Linked DNA regions of Homo sapiens: region 1 is linked to region 2. The links are contacts of gene promoters, found by promoter capture Hi-C in human tissues and cell types (Jung and others, 2019). All regions are on one chromosome and are shown on one strand. Each heading gives the region's core, a stretch centred on a gene start or on the middle of the fragment in contact. The rest is flanking DNA. Distances are from core to core; before and after follow the strand shown. Region 1 has its middle 13 kb from the start of LINC01247. Region 2 holds the start of CMPK2 (cytidine/uridine monophosphate kinase 2).

Region 1 (7,141 bases), core at 1,424-3,923, 500 kb before region 2:
GTCAACCAGGTTAGCACAGAAACTGTGATGAGCACTTCATGCTTTGTTTCTGTCTTCAGTAAGTTTTACGTCATGTCATTCACAATATGAGGGAGTGTATAACCAATAAAGATGCCAAGACAATCCGTCCTAAGTGCAAACTGCCTGGCACAGGAGTCAGACTGAAAGCATTCCATATGGGCTAAGGAACTCATCAGGAGGAGGGAAATAAATCCGAGAGTTCCTGTTCCCTCTAACACCGATCAGTCTAGAATCCCAGAAGGCAAAGGGCAAACTGTGTCCCTCCCGTGCATTTTTGCACTCTGTGTATTTTTTTCAAAATATTCATTTCTGATAGTTTAATACCTAAAGATGATTTCATTTATTGCAGTGCCTATAAGCAATATCAGAAAAGCACAACCTGACCTTTTTAAAATAATTTTATCTCTGGGCTATGTGATGTGGAAATGAAAGGAAAGCTCATTCCAGAATATAGGAGAAATAGGTAAGACTACTGTCCTTTTGGTGTAACCATATGGCTTTGTCAGTCACACAGTCTGATGACGTCAGCGCATTTCATCTGAGTACCCAGTGATGTGTCGTGTTACCTCTGGCCACCAGACAAACATCCCTGGCCACACAGGGCTGACACAAACTTCCACTCTGGGCTCAAGGTAGACGCCCTCCATTGCCCTCCATTCTAAGGATGAAGAGGTTTGGAATTCAGGGATAAACTGGAAGCATGAAAAATAAGCAGCTGGAGGGAGCCCCGTCAATGAAGAAAGAGTTAGCCCTGGGTGGGGGTGGGAATAAGAGTTTCAGGCACCCTCATCTTATAGACAGGCACCACAACAAATTCTCCGAATTTGCATTGCAGTTCTTCAAAGGATTCCTCCAGTGATATCAGAGTTAGAAGGTTTTCAGTCTGATGAATGGGGAATATAGATAATGCTAAGTCCCCAGAGGGATTATATAAATGGCTTTTATTCAGATTTCCTAAAAATAGCACTATTCATTGCTTTTTTTGTCTCACATTATTAAAGTACTGTAAGTTCACTTTTAAAATGTTGGAAAAAAGCACAAAATTATGAAGACTATAGAAATGACCTATGATTTCACCACCAAATAAGTATCCATGTTTTTCTATTCATCTAATCATGAGTGCATAAAACCATGTTAAATATACAATTTTACATCTTATCTGTTTCATTTAAATTATATCATTAGCATTTTCTCTATTCAGCTAGGCATTGTTTGAAACCTCATTTTAATGTCATTTGCATATTGTTTTATTGAGCAATAATTTTTTGATCATCGTGTGTGTGTGTATGTGTGTTTATGTGTGTGTGTTTCTGATTTTTCTATGCGCAGGAAATTCTTGATCAATGAATATAGTCAAGATATGATTCCTGCTTTTGGAGGAAAGTCTGACGAAAACAAGAAAAGACAGAAAAGCCTCCATGGGGCTGAAATTCAGAACAGAATGTCTCCTTCTCCTGGAATAAGCCCGGACAAGCCATCAACATTTTGGGGTAGTGCCAAGGTGAAGCCTCCATTCATAACTGGCTGGAGTCTGGGCATGGTTAGAATGGCAAAGGCAAGTGTTCCACGTCACAGAGGTCTGGAAGTTCTCCTTTGGGGCACTGGATCACAGGGATGGGGACAAAAGAACCCAGCCAGCTGTGCTGAGGCAGAGCACGCATCTCCACTGCTGGGACAGGGTGAGGACTTTATTCTAAGACCCTAGGAGGGAGGGAGAGATACTAATCTTTATTCCCATGACTAAGATGGGCTCAGAAATTGCTCATCAAAGCAAAGAATGAAATTGCCCTGTATGCCAGGGACACTTCCAAGATGCTTCATAGAAATTAACTCATGCAGCCTTCATGACCACCCTTGAGGTTGGTAGGTGGTGTCATCCCCAAAACACAGCTGAAGAAACTGGGATGCAGAGATACTGAGTGCTTTGCTGAAGGTCACCAAGCAAGTAAAGGAGGGAGGTGGGATTGAAACAGCAGGTGACCCTAAGGCTCTTCTGCATCTCTCCCCATCACCAAGCACAGAGCATGAGGCCTGACTGTGTCTGCAGGAGGAGATCGGGGCCTGAGGGGAGGGAAATGTTGTGGAGAGCAAAAGCAGAAGAGCCCCAGCAGAAGCAGATGCCTGGAGGAACACCTTTGAAACAAAGTCTAAAAATATCATGTCTCTGATTATGGTTCAGAAAGATTCCCATTTGGGTGTGGGCTTATGTAAGTTTGTGTGTGAGACGTGTGTGTGTGTGTGTGTGTGTGTGTGTGTGTGTGTGTGTGTAGGGAGCTGGAAAGGGGGAGGTGATGGTCCCTCTTTCTAGGTCCCTGCAGTGGTTCTTCCCTGCACCTCCCATGACAGCAAGAATGCATGGTTCCTCTCTGACACCTCCCTAACTGAAGACTCCAGGCTCCAGTGGGCCATGGCCAACCAAGTCCCTGGGAGGCACAGCTGCCTAAGCCACAGGCGGCTGGCAGAGGGGCTCAGCGTCACCCTCCAGAGAATAATCCTCCTCCCAGTCTTCTCATCTGCAGCAGTCAAGGGTGAGAAGGAGCCAGGGAATGACAGAACAAAAGCAGAAAGCTCACCAGACCACAAACCAACCTCAACCAGCTCTTGTCTAAGACACCGCTAAAGAGCTAATCCTCCTGAAATCCACCGAAGGGTTTTAGAGATGGCGGCACTTCCTGCTTTACAGAACACAGCCACTGTATGGTGATCGCCTTGCTTGGAAATTTTTAGCATGGTCAATATAATGGCTTTACTTATAGGTGCTCTTTTGAAATTCAGCAAAATGTTGTTACCAGACTGCCTCCAGGAAACAGAGAATTCTCAGCCACAGCTATTGGAGAAGCACTTTTTAAATGTTATTTTCTGCATGAAGGTATAAAATTATGATACGTCATCCTAATCCAACCCTGTTCCTGTGTCTTTGCCAGACTGTAGGAACAGTCTTCTGCTTCTGGAGTCATAATTATTATGTATTACTAGTTACATCATCAGCACACCACCAAATCAACAGTGCCAGAAAATGTCCGGAGATGTATGATCACCTTCCATTTAGCTTTCAAGAATGGAGAGTCCTGACCACTGAAGACTGAGTTCAATGGCATCCCAAAGCCCATCCCATGAAATACTACGATAATATATCAGCAACTTTTACATTAGCAACGTTTCCATATCTAAGCCCTAATTTTAAGAGAAAATAACACTGCTGGAGAAATCAGCAAACTAATCCAGGTAGGCTTTATTTCTACTGAGTTATAGAAAAACATATAAAACACAAATCAAAAACCAATATATCTTAGAACCCTCAGGGTGATGATGATTTAGATGATAATGTTTTCATGTCCATCCATAAGAAGCTGCCTGGGGGACCGAGTGCGGTGGCTCACGCCTGTAATCCCAGCACTTTGCGAGGCCGTGGTGGGCGGATTACGATGTCAGGAGTTCAAGACCAGCCTGGCCAACATGGTGAAACCCCGTCTCTACTAAAAATACAAAAATTATCTAGGCGTGCCTGTAGTCCCAGCTACTCGGGAAGCTGAGGAAGGAGAATCGCTTGAACCCTGGAATTGGAGGTTGCAGTGATCCAAGATCACACCACTGCACTCCAGCTTGGGCAATGGAGTGAGACTTCGTCTCAAAAAAAAAAAAAAAAAAAAAAAAAGCAAAAACAAACAAACAAAAAACAAAGAAGCTTCCTGGACTCAGGAAAATGTGTCAGCATTTTGACCTTTGGGACAATGTATATTCTTCTCTTTGCCTGAAATTTATTCTCATTGTTAATAAATCTGCTCAAAAGTTATCTCCCCTATGAAATTCTCTCTCTCTGTGTGTATGTGTATGTCTGTCTGTCTATCTATCTCTGTTTCTTTCTCTCTCTCTCACACACACACACAGAGTTTGCCTGTCCCTGATCCTACATCACGTACGCTTCCTTAACTCCAATCTCACTGTTTATAATGCATTATTCGTGCATTTGTTCTCCCCGATCTATTACATTTTTATTGTTGTCTTAAGAACACTGTTTATGCCTGTACCGGCTTATATAACAATGTGCCATCAACTAGATGCTTTTAAACAACTGAAATTTATTTCTTACAGTTCTGGAAGCTGGAAGTCCAAGATCAAAGTGCCGGCAGATTCGCAGATTCTGTGTCTGGTGAGGGGCCATTTTCGGGTTCATAGACAGTGCTTTCTTACTGAGTTCTCACATGGTGGAAGGGGCAAGACAGCTGTCTCTGGATCCTCTTTTACAAGGACACTAGTCCCATTCACAAGGGCTCCACCCTCACGATCTCATCACCTCCCAAAACTTCCACTTTATGTGGGGAGTTTGGTTTCACCGTGATGAATTTCAGGGGGACACTATGATTCAGACCATAGCATACATTTCACATGAGTTCTACTCTCTGAATCCATTTTTAAGTGCAGAATAAAGTATTATTAGCTATAGGAACAATATTGTTCAGCAGATCTCTAAAACGTATTCAGCTTTTATAATTGAAACTTTATGCCCGTTGAACAGCAACTCTTCTTGAAGGCAAGAAGTTTCGGTTGGGCGCAGGGGCTCATGCCTGTAATCCCAACCTTTTTGTAAGCAGTGAGCTATGAACACACCACTGCACTCCCGTCTGAGCCACAGAATGAGACTGTGTCTCAAAAACAAAACCAAACAAAAACCAAATAAACCAAAAGGACTTTTTTCTCACTCTTTCTATTTCATTTAACTACCATTTCTGAACATTTACAGTACACAAATGACAGTTAAATCTGGAATATAAAATCACTATTCTGAAAGAGTTGATAATCTAACAGGGTAGAAAGAAAAAATAATTTTATTCCGGAAAAATATATTGTGTGGAATTTGTCTTCATATAGGGATAATGAACAGACCACATTTACTTGTTATATTCACGTGATGATTGCAAACTTCATATGATTTTTTTCCTTTGAAACTATCATTTTAAAAGATTTGGTCACTAGCTAGTATGTTTCTTGATGAAAGAAACAAAGTCTCTATTATCTAGCATTTCTATTACCAGTGCCCAGTAGGAACCAGGGATCAAGTGAGAATTCCATAAATAATTGTTACCTGAATGAATGAACTTACAATTGTATGCATGTCTCTACTGATAAGACATATTTGCATGTTGGCCAATCACATAGAGTTTTGCTTTTAATAAATGGTTTGGACTGAAATACTTCAAATAAAGAAAAGTGCAGCATCTTGAAAGTTCTTTAAAATGATCCTTTCTCTTTGGGTTGCCAGAGGATCAAATAATTCTCCTATACTCAAATAGAGAATCAGACTACCCTCTTTTATCTTCATTTGGATGTTTCTCCAAAATGTTCTCAATGCTTCCTTTTCAAACCTAGACTTTGATGACAACATTACTTCTCATCTCCTTGTAAGCACAAGTTTGGCCCTTTTAGATGCCATGAGTGTTTAACAATTTAAGTTCCTTTAGATGCCTGAAACAACTAATTTCTCACTGGGGGTATAAACCTTTATATTTATTGCCACTAATTTACTAAATGAATTGTGTTCATATTCTTTTTGTAACCTTCATAGAAAGAAATTAAGATTAGATGCTGCTATTTCAAAAGTGATCTGAACACCCTGCTGTTTTCATCTTTTACAATATTTAGGATACTACCTCCCAATAATCTGTTTGTAAAAACGAATCAATTATCAACAACATGACTTTCTCATGAATAATTAAAAGAAACAACAACACAAAGGAGGGTTCCACCAGAAACCAGTACATCGCTTCAAAAATCTTAAGAGTGCTTTGCAAAACTCTGCATGAAGTGCCTAATTCAAAGAAGCTTGAGACTTTTAATTCCAGGTCGACTCTGTCTAGAATACAATCAGAAGAATTTCTGCTTTCCAGTTGCCTATGGCTGAGATTCCCCTTGGGAATGAGTTTATCGTTTTGGAAGACAGGAGGGCTTTTTGGTTCCAGCAAGGCTCCATTTGGCAAATTAGTGAGCCAATGTATTTTGTGATGTCCTGATTAAAGAACAAAATGAGCCAGGTGTGGTGGCTTTTACCTGTATTCCCAGCACTTTGGGAGGAAGAGGTGGGAGATCACTTGAGGCCAGGAGTTCAAGACTAGCCTGGGCAATATAGCAAGACTCCAACTCAAAAAAAAATTAATAATGAACAAAACAAAACAACACTACTTAAATTTCTGTAAGTACTGTGTACTCATCATCAAAATGATGCAAATCACTGTAATTTTCCTGTAAACAATTTTTAATAAGAAAAATCTGTGAAAAAGTAAAAAATCTATTAATAATTTAATTTAAAATTTTAGTTCTGACTCTTATTAGCTATGAGAAGCTACATGAATTATTTAAGCTTTCTTGAATTTCTTGATCTGCAAAATTAAAATAAGAATGCCTATTTCATAAAACAGTTAAAAAGTCAAAATGAGAGAGAGTCATGAAAAAAATCTCTGAAAAATAGAACTTCTTTTCTCTTTCTATCTTTAAAAGAGCATATAGGGTGTGTGTGTGTGCATGCATGTGTGTGATTGTGTGCATGTGTGTGTGGTCAGTTTGTAATAATTCAGGTCATTTTTTCACTTCTTTTCCACTTGTTAAATGAGATATGAGGCTTGTAGTAATGACCCAGAGGACTCTAAAGTACTTTCTTCACTTCTTAAAAAGATCAGATTATAAATTACAGATTCAAGAATTAATAGTTGTTTCCTGAATCTTTTCATATATTTGGAAAGTATTTATTAATGGCCAAAAATGTGACAATTATTATGTATTCTGTATGTAAGACGCTTCATAATGTTCTTTTCATTAGAATGTGGACCTTACCACATTCTGGTCCATCAGGATCATGTTATTTTATGAGTTATTTGTTCCTTGACAAAGTCAGGAAGACATATTGTGCACAACAATGAGAATAGGCAAAGCAATGATTCATTCGTTACTGGATACTTTTCCCTCTCTCCATCCTGCATCGTTATAGAATCCCCTAGAAAGCTTTCAAGAAAATTAATTCAAGGGTCACATCTCAGACCAAGTAAGATCTTGATGGTGAGACCCAGATGTTGAAGTTTCCTAAACTCCTAACTGGATTCTTCAATGTATAGTCAGAGTTGAAAACCAC
Region 2 (7,259 bases), core at 2,296-4,795:
CTCCTGATAGGCCTTGGTGCAGGATGCAAATGCAGGGCAGACGGAACCACTAGCCTGTGTTCTTTCTGCCACTCTATGCTAACTCCTTGTAACATTTGTATGTGTGGATGCTTGTGTTGAGGCTGAATTTTTATGTCTCCTGTAATCCCACCAAATCTAAATTAGCTGTGGGTACAAAATAAATGATCAACAAAACACATCAGCTGAAGGATTGATGGTGTTACAATTCCCTCTGCAGCTGAAAGAAACTGTGATGGGTCCTGGACACGGCCAGTACATTTGAGTGATGACAGCTGGTCTCCCTGAAGGCCAGGACATGGCCCGCTCCTTCACATGGAGCCAGGATGGTCAACATGGGCCATCACCTGTGCCACATCTCCCTAGCTGGGTTCACAAGTACCTCTATATGGAAATTGCCTTTTATATTATTAAAAGTCTGTACCCCTCAAGTTTACACAGGAGGAGAAACTCCTACGCTGAACCACTCGGATGCTAGTTCTCCAACATCAACCCTCTCCTCAGTGTGTCCTGGGCCACAGGAGCAGCATGTCTGCCCCTTTTGTACTTTGGTCTCATGTGAGCACACATTATATTTTGACCTCAGTTTGACAGCTCAGAAGGCTTTTTTTTCTTCCATTTCCTAGTTCTTCCACATTTTGCTCCAGAAGAATCTCTGAATTGCCTGTGGTTCCTGGACACACCACCCTGGTTCAAGCCCCTGCACCTTTGCCCAGGCTATTTCTTCTGTCTGGAGGATGTTACCTGCTTTCATCACCTGACCAACTCCTATCTGTACTTAAAATACAATCCAGGTATCACCCTTGACCATGCACTCCACCCGACAAAGCCCCACAGAGGCCAGATTCAGTGCCCTTCCTGTGTTCCGCCAGAGCACTGAGGATCCGCGCCCACACATCATGCTGCTTCATATTGAAGGTCTTATTCATCTCTGCATCCCAGGGCCTGCCTAGCACAGGGCCTGCCACACAGTAGGGGCACACATAAGGCTCCATATAAAGTTTGGTTTTGCAGGAAGTATTTCTGTTTCTGCAACTAATCAGTTAGTGTCATTGCCTATAACTAAAAGGTAATATTATCTTACCCGTGGCATCCAGTCCTTCGATGGCAACAACCTGGAACTTTCCTTTCTGGATCTGTTTTGGGCACTGGTCGACCAGGTCAAGCACTGCCCGGGCTTCAGGAATAAAGGAGGTACACTGTAAAACAACGTCTATCCATCAGCAATGAAGCCAGGGGGCTTTTGCAGAAATCACACCTAAATTGCTGAGCACAATATTGCCGCATGCTAATAAGGCCTAAGTTATACTGAGCACTGTGCCAGGCCATGGGAATTCAGAGTATTTCGATGCTAGGATGGACTGGAGTGTTTTATTTTATATTGAGCAGCCGAGGCTCGAAACAGCTGTCCCTGTCTGGATCGCTTGGTGGCCTGCAGCCTTCACTGAGCAGCTTTGAGAAAGGCCAGGCAAGGCACATCATCACAATGTCCTGTGACACCGCAACCATGGAACTACAGGCCCGCTGGGAACACTGTCTCACAAGAATGGGAAATCAGCTGCACAGTGGGCTGGAGAGAGCAGTCTTCATCTGCAGCATGTCCTCTCCTAGCCATTCAGGGGGCTGAGATAAACAGCCAAGCACTGCAATCATGAAGCTGGCAGAGCAGCGTCCCCCTGGGAATTCCCAGTTCCTCAATGTGCATTATCTCACTGCACGCTCACAGCATCTCAGAGCGAGGCTCAGACACTTATGTGCTTGCTCTGAGCATGGCAATCTTCTAAGTGCTTTACAAGTATTCAGTTGCCAATCTCTGTGAACTGGGGTGGGGGGGTGCTATTATTATTCCCACCATATGAATTAAGGAAACTGAGGCAGAGAGTTGAAGAAACTTGCTCAAAGTGACACAGCTAATAAATGCCAGAGTTTAAATTTAAATACACGTGGTTGACCTTGCGCTCTTAACTGCTCCACAACGCTGTCCCGTAAGCTTGGAAAATATTCCCAAGATCCATGGGGGCATCCTCAGGGCTCATCTGTGTCACAGGAGGACATCTGCCTAGCCTGCGATCAGAAAGAATTTTCAGTCTCTTTCTGTGGGTACCTGCTGTGAGTCAGATGTTTCCTTAATCAGGACAACATCGCAAGATGGGAATTGTACATGTCAAAGGGCAAAACTTAGAGTAGTTGAGTAACCTGCACAAGGTTCATGGCCAGTCGGTAGGTAAACACTATTTAAGTCTAAATTTCTTAAACCCCCTAAACTCATGCATTTTCTTTTTCACCCCAAGATCCTTGAATGGTGATCATCAGCAAATAAAATTACTTCCCAGCTGACATTATTTTCCCTCACTCCCGGCAGCCCCTTTACTCCCTCTGTACTGCTGTTGGGATGCTTTTACAGCAAGCATCGCGTGGCTTGGTGTAGGTCTATGTTCCACGTCAGGTTGGAAGATCCTTGCAAACAAGAATCTTAAAAGAGTTGCCTGGCATACAGGACACCTTCCCTACCTGATTTGTGAACGGAAATAAACAAACCACCCAGGCAAGAACCGGCTCTACAGACCAGCCTCTTGGTCCAGTTCTCTGGTCTGAAGGGTTCAGATGCCACGCTGGGAGCTGGAAGCGGACAGAACTCTTACCTCCTCCAAAACGGCCCGGGCGGCTTCCCGGTCCGGGAAGACCACGGAACTGGGCAAGTCTGGCACCACCGGGTGCAGCGGGGGCTCCGGGACGGGCACGACCTGTGCGCAGCCCACCTGCAGCCGCCTGCCGTCTTGCACCTCCCAGAGGCGCTGCCACAGCTGGCCGCGCGGGTCGGCCTCGAACTCGCCCAAGTGCGGGCGTGGTGCCTCCTGACAGGCGCCCAGCAGCTCGAGCAGCGCTTGCCGGGTGTCAGGGTCATCCAGGGGGTCGCGCAGCAGGAAGCCTTGCTGTGCGCCGCCGGCCTGGCCGCCCGGGCAGTAGCAGAGCAGCCTGAGCAGCTGGCACCGCTGGAAGGGGCCGCGGCGCAGCTGGTGCAGCAGGCGCTGGTGCAGCCGCGCCGCCCGGACCCGGGCCCCGCAGCCGGCGTCCGGGGTCACGGGCACGCACAGCGAGTAGCTGCGCTCCGGGGGCCCCAGCAGCGCCGCCAGGCGGGGGTCGGGGGCGTCTGCGTCGCCGGGGGCGTCGGCGCCTAGGGCGAAGTGAGCCAGGGTGCAGTCGGGAAGCTCCAGGACGAAGCGGCGCGGCGGAGCCATGGCCCCAGCGCAGACCCCGCGCCGCCCGAGCAGCGGCCCCGACAGTGGCCCGCGCAGGAGCCGGCGGGCGAAGGCCATGGGCGCCTCAGCGACGCCGCCCTCGGCCCCGCCTCGGAAACGAAACCTGGCGGGAGCCAGGCGCCGGCGGGAAACGAAACCCGGAGGGAGCCAGGCGCCAGCGGGAAACGAAAGCGAAGCGTTGCGGGGAAACGAAAGCCGGAGGCCCAGGCGGGGCAGGAGCCCTGGGGCTGGGGCGCCCTTCCGGCCTCTCCTCCTCGCCGCGAGATGTGCGCGATAAACGGCCGGCGCTCGGGAGCAGACGCTTGGCCCCGGGGCCCCAGGTGCGCGGCTCCGCGGGCCTGCGCGGTCCCCAGGCGCCGGCTCCCGGGGCTGACACCGAATGAGGCCCCGCGCCGTCGGCCCCAAGGTAGCTCCGTGTGCGTTCTGCGGGTGGCTGGCGGCCCCGACCCTGGTTTGAGTTCCTCCTCTGCGGCTTATGCCGGGTGCATGGAGGGGGGCGGGGGTGCACGCGCGAGGGACAGAGAAGTCCCTTCCCGGTGTAACGGGCTCTTCAACGCCCACTTGCAGGCGCACTACTGCCCTTGGATGACTGACCAGGCCCTGCAGACCATGGGCTCCCTCCCCGACCTCAACTCCTAGCTCTGACCACGCGTCCCCGCCCCTCTAATCCTGCAGAGCTGCTTTCCTGCGGGAACAGGGCGCAGTTCTGGCTCTTCCCTCTCCTGTATCTTATCTCACCTGTGCACTCACTCACCTGTGCACACACTCACCTTTGCACACACTCACCTGTGCACAAGCTTTTCCCTCTTCTTGGAATTGCCCTCTCCCTTTTGCTGACTCTCCAACTGGGAAGTGTCGCCCAGATTGGCACCTCGAAATCGCCTTTCTTCCACCAAATTGAAGTTTCCTGCACTAAGGTGAAGTGTGTCAGGATAGCACCCTCTGCCTGCCACAGTCCAGCATCAGCACTGTTGCTGCCTAACAGTGTAACTGCCTAACAGTGTAACAGTGTTTGCGCAGTTATTTGGATATTTTATTCTGTGTTTACTCATTAACTGATGCCTTTTAAAAATGATGTCAAGCAAACCAAAAACAAACAAAAAGATAATATTCTCCAGGGAAACTCTCTCAAAAAAATAGAATTGAGACGAAGATTGAAAACATTAGATGAGCTGAAAGCAGTTTTTTTTTTATGTCTTAATAGTATTGGACTTAAACTTGGGATTATATTTAATTCTGAAAAAAAAAGTCTTAACAAACGTGAAATATAGATAGGTGGTTGGAGTGTGGGTTAATAGGCTAAGAAGAAAGAAGAATTAGGAGTTTAAAATTTTTTAGCTCTTTGAGAATAGAATAGTTTTTATTCTTTCTCAGGAATTTCACTTTTGGACATTTAGCATGTACCGGTGGTTTCACGTGTATGTAGTATATGGAAGTAAGAGTCTTCTAGTTACTCCCTTTTCTTCTCTAAGACAGTACTGCATCCTCAAGCCTGCTTGACCTTTTCCCTATGCCATCCACCTCTCTGGATGTATTAGTCTATCCTGGCTGCCATAACAAAATACCACGGACTGGGCCGCCTAAACAATAGAAAATTTGTTTTCTCAAAGTTCAGGTGGCCAGAGAAGCTGGAGATCAAGTTGCCAGCAGGGTTTGCTTTTTCTGAGGCCTCTCTTTCTAGCGTGCAGACCGCCTCCTTCTCTCTGTGTTCTCACGGGACCTTTCCTTTGTGCTTGCATCCTTGGCGTCTCCTTGAAGTTCCAAATTTCCTCTTCTGGGAAGGACACCAGTCAGATTGGGTTAGGGCCCATCATAATGTTCTCATTTTAATGTAATCACCTATTGAAAGCCTTATTTTGAAATACAGTCATACTGTGAGGCACTGGGGGCTAGGCCTGAGCATGAATTTTGGGGGACATGATATAGCCTATAACCCCCCACATATCTGGGTTAGTAGCCTCTCCTGTGTCCCCCACCAAGGCTATTTGTATCCTCGGACCTTGACACTCCACAGTCACGTGCCAGTCTATTTCCCACCACTGAGCACCTTGAGGGTAAGTAGGAAGACCAGCTTCTTCCTAACTTTTCTCTGAGCCTCCAACTGAAAGAAAACCTGACACACAGTTTGCTAAATGAAGCATCTTACCTTTTTTAATTTAAGTTTTCCTCTCTATTTTTCACCTACCTTCGCCCTACGAAGAGATGTAAAGTTAATAACACTGCAGTATTTGGGCTTAGTCAATATTATATAAGTGTTGAAGATGTTGAAGATATATCTTCATTCATAAATAAAAATTTCTGTTAGATTTTCAAGCCCCTTCAAATTTGTAGGACAGAGACTCTGAGAGCCACAGCTGGATGTTTATATTGACTAAACATGCCTGTAGCCACCCATCGTTGCAGGTGGAAAGGAGAGAAGCTGCAGGCTGGGAAGATACTTCAAAGAGGTGTCTTTAAATGAATGAACAGCACAGCTATATCATAGGAAAAGCCATAATCTTCAACACTTACAGTATTAAACAAGAGAAAATGAAACTTTTCTAGCCATTCTGCTCCTAAGAAAAAAAGAAACAGAATGGGAGAATTAAAAATATAAATAGCAATTAATAAATAATAAAATGAAAAAATAACACTTTGAAAAAGAGCTTAGTTTTTGAAAACATGTTTAAACAGATATGTTTCTAGGTAGTTTAATTCAATTGGAAAAAGAAAGAAAATGCAAATCAGAATAGGAATAAATGAGATGATAGAACCACAAGTTCAAAAGGATACCCAAAAGAGAATATTACAAACAATTCCACATTCATAAAAGTGAATATTATAAAATAAATGATGAGCTCAGAAAATAAGAATTAATAAAATGAGCCCAGGATAGAATGTTGAGTCTATAACTCTGTAACCCAAATCCTAGGCTAGAAGTTAATGAAAGGGCTAAAAAGCACTGAGCAAGTTTCAGAGATCACTTAGTTATCAAGGAACAGATAAGCTCTCTCCCGCATAACCTTCTGTTTCTTTTTTAAATAAAAATTCATTCTAGCAATTTGTGGGCTTACAATTTGAAGAGTATTCTCCTCTCTCTTGGAGTTGGTTTTCTCACAAAGAAATGCTGTTGATACAGCTACCTTTGAGGGAAGAGTTGCCATAACAGGTCCAGCTGCTCACCCCTTGCATATCTCCACAGGAGCCTCAAACCATGATTGCTGTTGGGCCAAACTTTGGAAAGATGACCCTCCAGAGGCTCTTTATATTCATGGTTGGTGATTCTGTTATGTACACCTGGAGCAATACTCCATGACATGCCAGCTTGCGATCATTTTGCACAAACGTCAAGATTAACGATGTGCACCTCATTCATTGTCGGGGTCCTGAGATTTGGTTACTATAGCTGGGCACATGGCAGGATGTGCCTGCATATCTAGCCCTTCATATAATGGCAGACCCTGAGACTCAAACAGGCTTTTCCTGGCCAGTGGTTTCAAACACGTCCTGGTAGTTCACTGCTGGAGGGAGCACACCCTGTGCAACTCAGGTGGTGAAGGACTCAAAAGCTTATGGCTACCCTCTCCAGACTGCTTGACTTACACCTTTTTCCTATTGTTCTTGCTCTACAGCCTTTTAGAGGAATAAAGCCCAGTTGGGAGTCTAACATGCTCCTGAGTCTTATGAGTCCTGTTTGTGAATTATCAAGCATAAAGGTGGTCTTGAGACATCCACACATGCACACACACACATACACACTCATGAAAAGAAAAAAAAAATTTCCAAGATTAGAGCCCACTCTTATTTCAGAGCATGTTGATATTCCATTTTATGCATGTAAATACACAGACACGTAAACCCAAATACAATTTTGGGCCCATGAAGGAGTGAAAGGGAAAGCCAAAGAGGTTAAAGAAGATGTCTGCAACCAACATTTGTGTACAATCACTAACAAAGTGTACAATATACAATGAATTTCTACAAATTAATGATAAAATGCAG

What was found. The method cuts DNA at HindIII sites, captures the fragments that hold promoters and counts their contacts. A contact is called where the count stands out against the background at its distance.
Region 1: a fragment that was not itself captured here is called in contact with the fragment with the promoter of CMPK2 in region 2 in 1 of the 25 tissues and cell types used here (pancreas).

Annotation. Positions count from the first base shown.
Region 1 is chr2:6,358,623-6,365,763 of GRCh38, forward strand. No RefSeq gene overlaps it. Among named protein-coding and RNA genes, the nearest start is that of LINC01247, 13 kb to the right of the region's middle. The HindIII fragment of the contact is 4,200 bases long and covers 574-4,773 here.
Region 2 is chr2:6,862,362-6,869,620 of GRCh38, forward strand. It overlaps CMPK2 (cytidine/uridine monophosphate kinase 2), which reads right to left and starts at 3,546. Exons shown (of 5, transcript NM_207315.4): 1 at 2,661-3,546; 2 at 1,103-1,217. The coding sequence starts at 3,335. It also overlaps a transcript of RSAD2 not described here. RefSeq lists silencers at 2,857-3,296, 3,537-3,806 and an enhancer at 3,317-3,536. The HindIII fragment of the contact is 2,409 bases long and covers 3,042-5,450 here.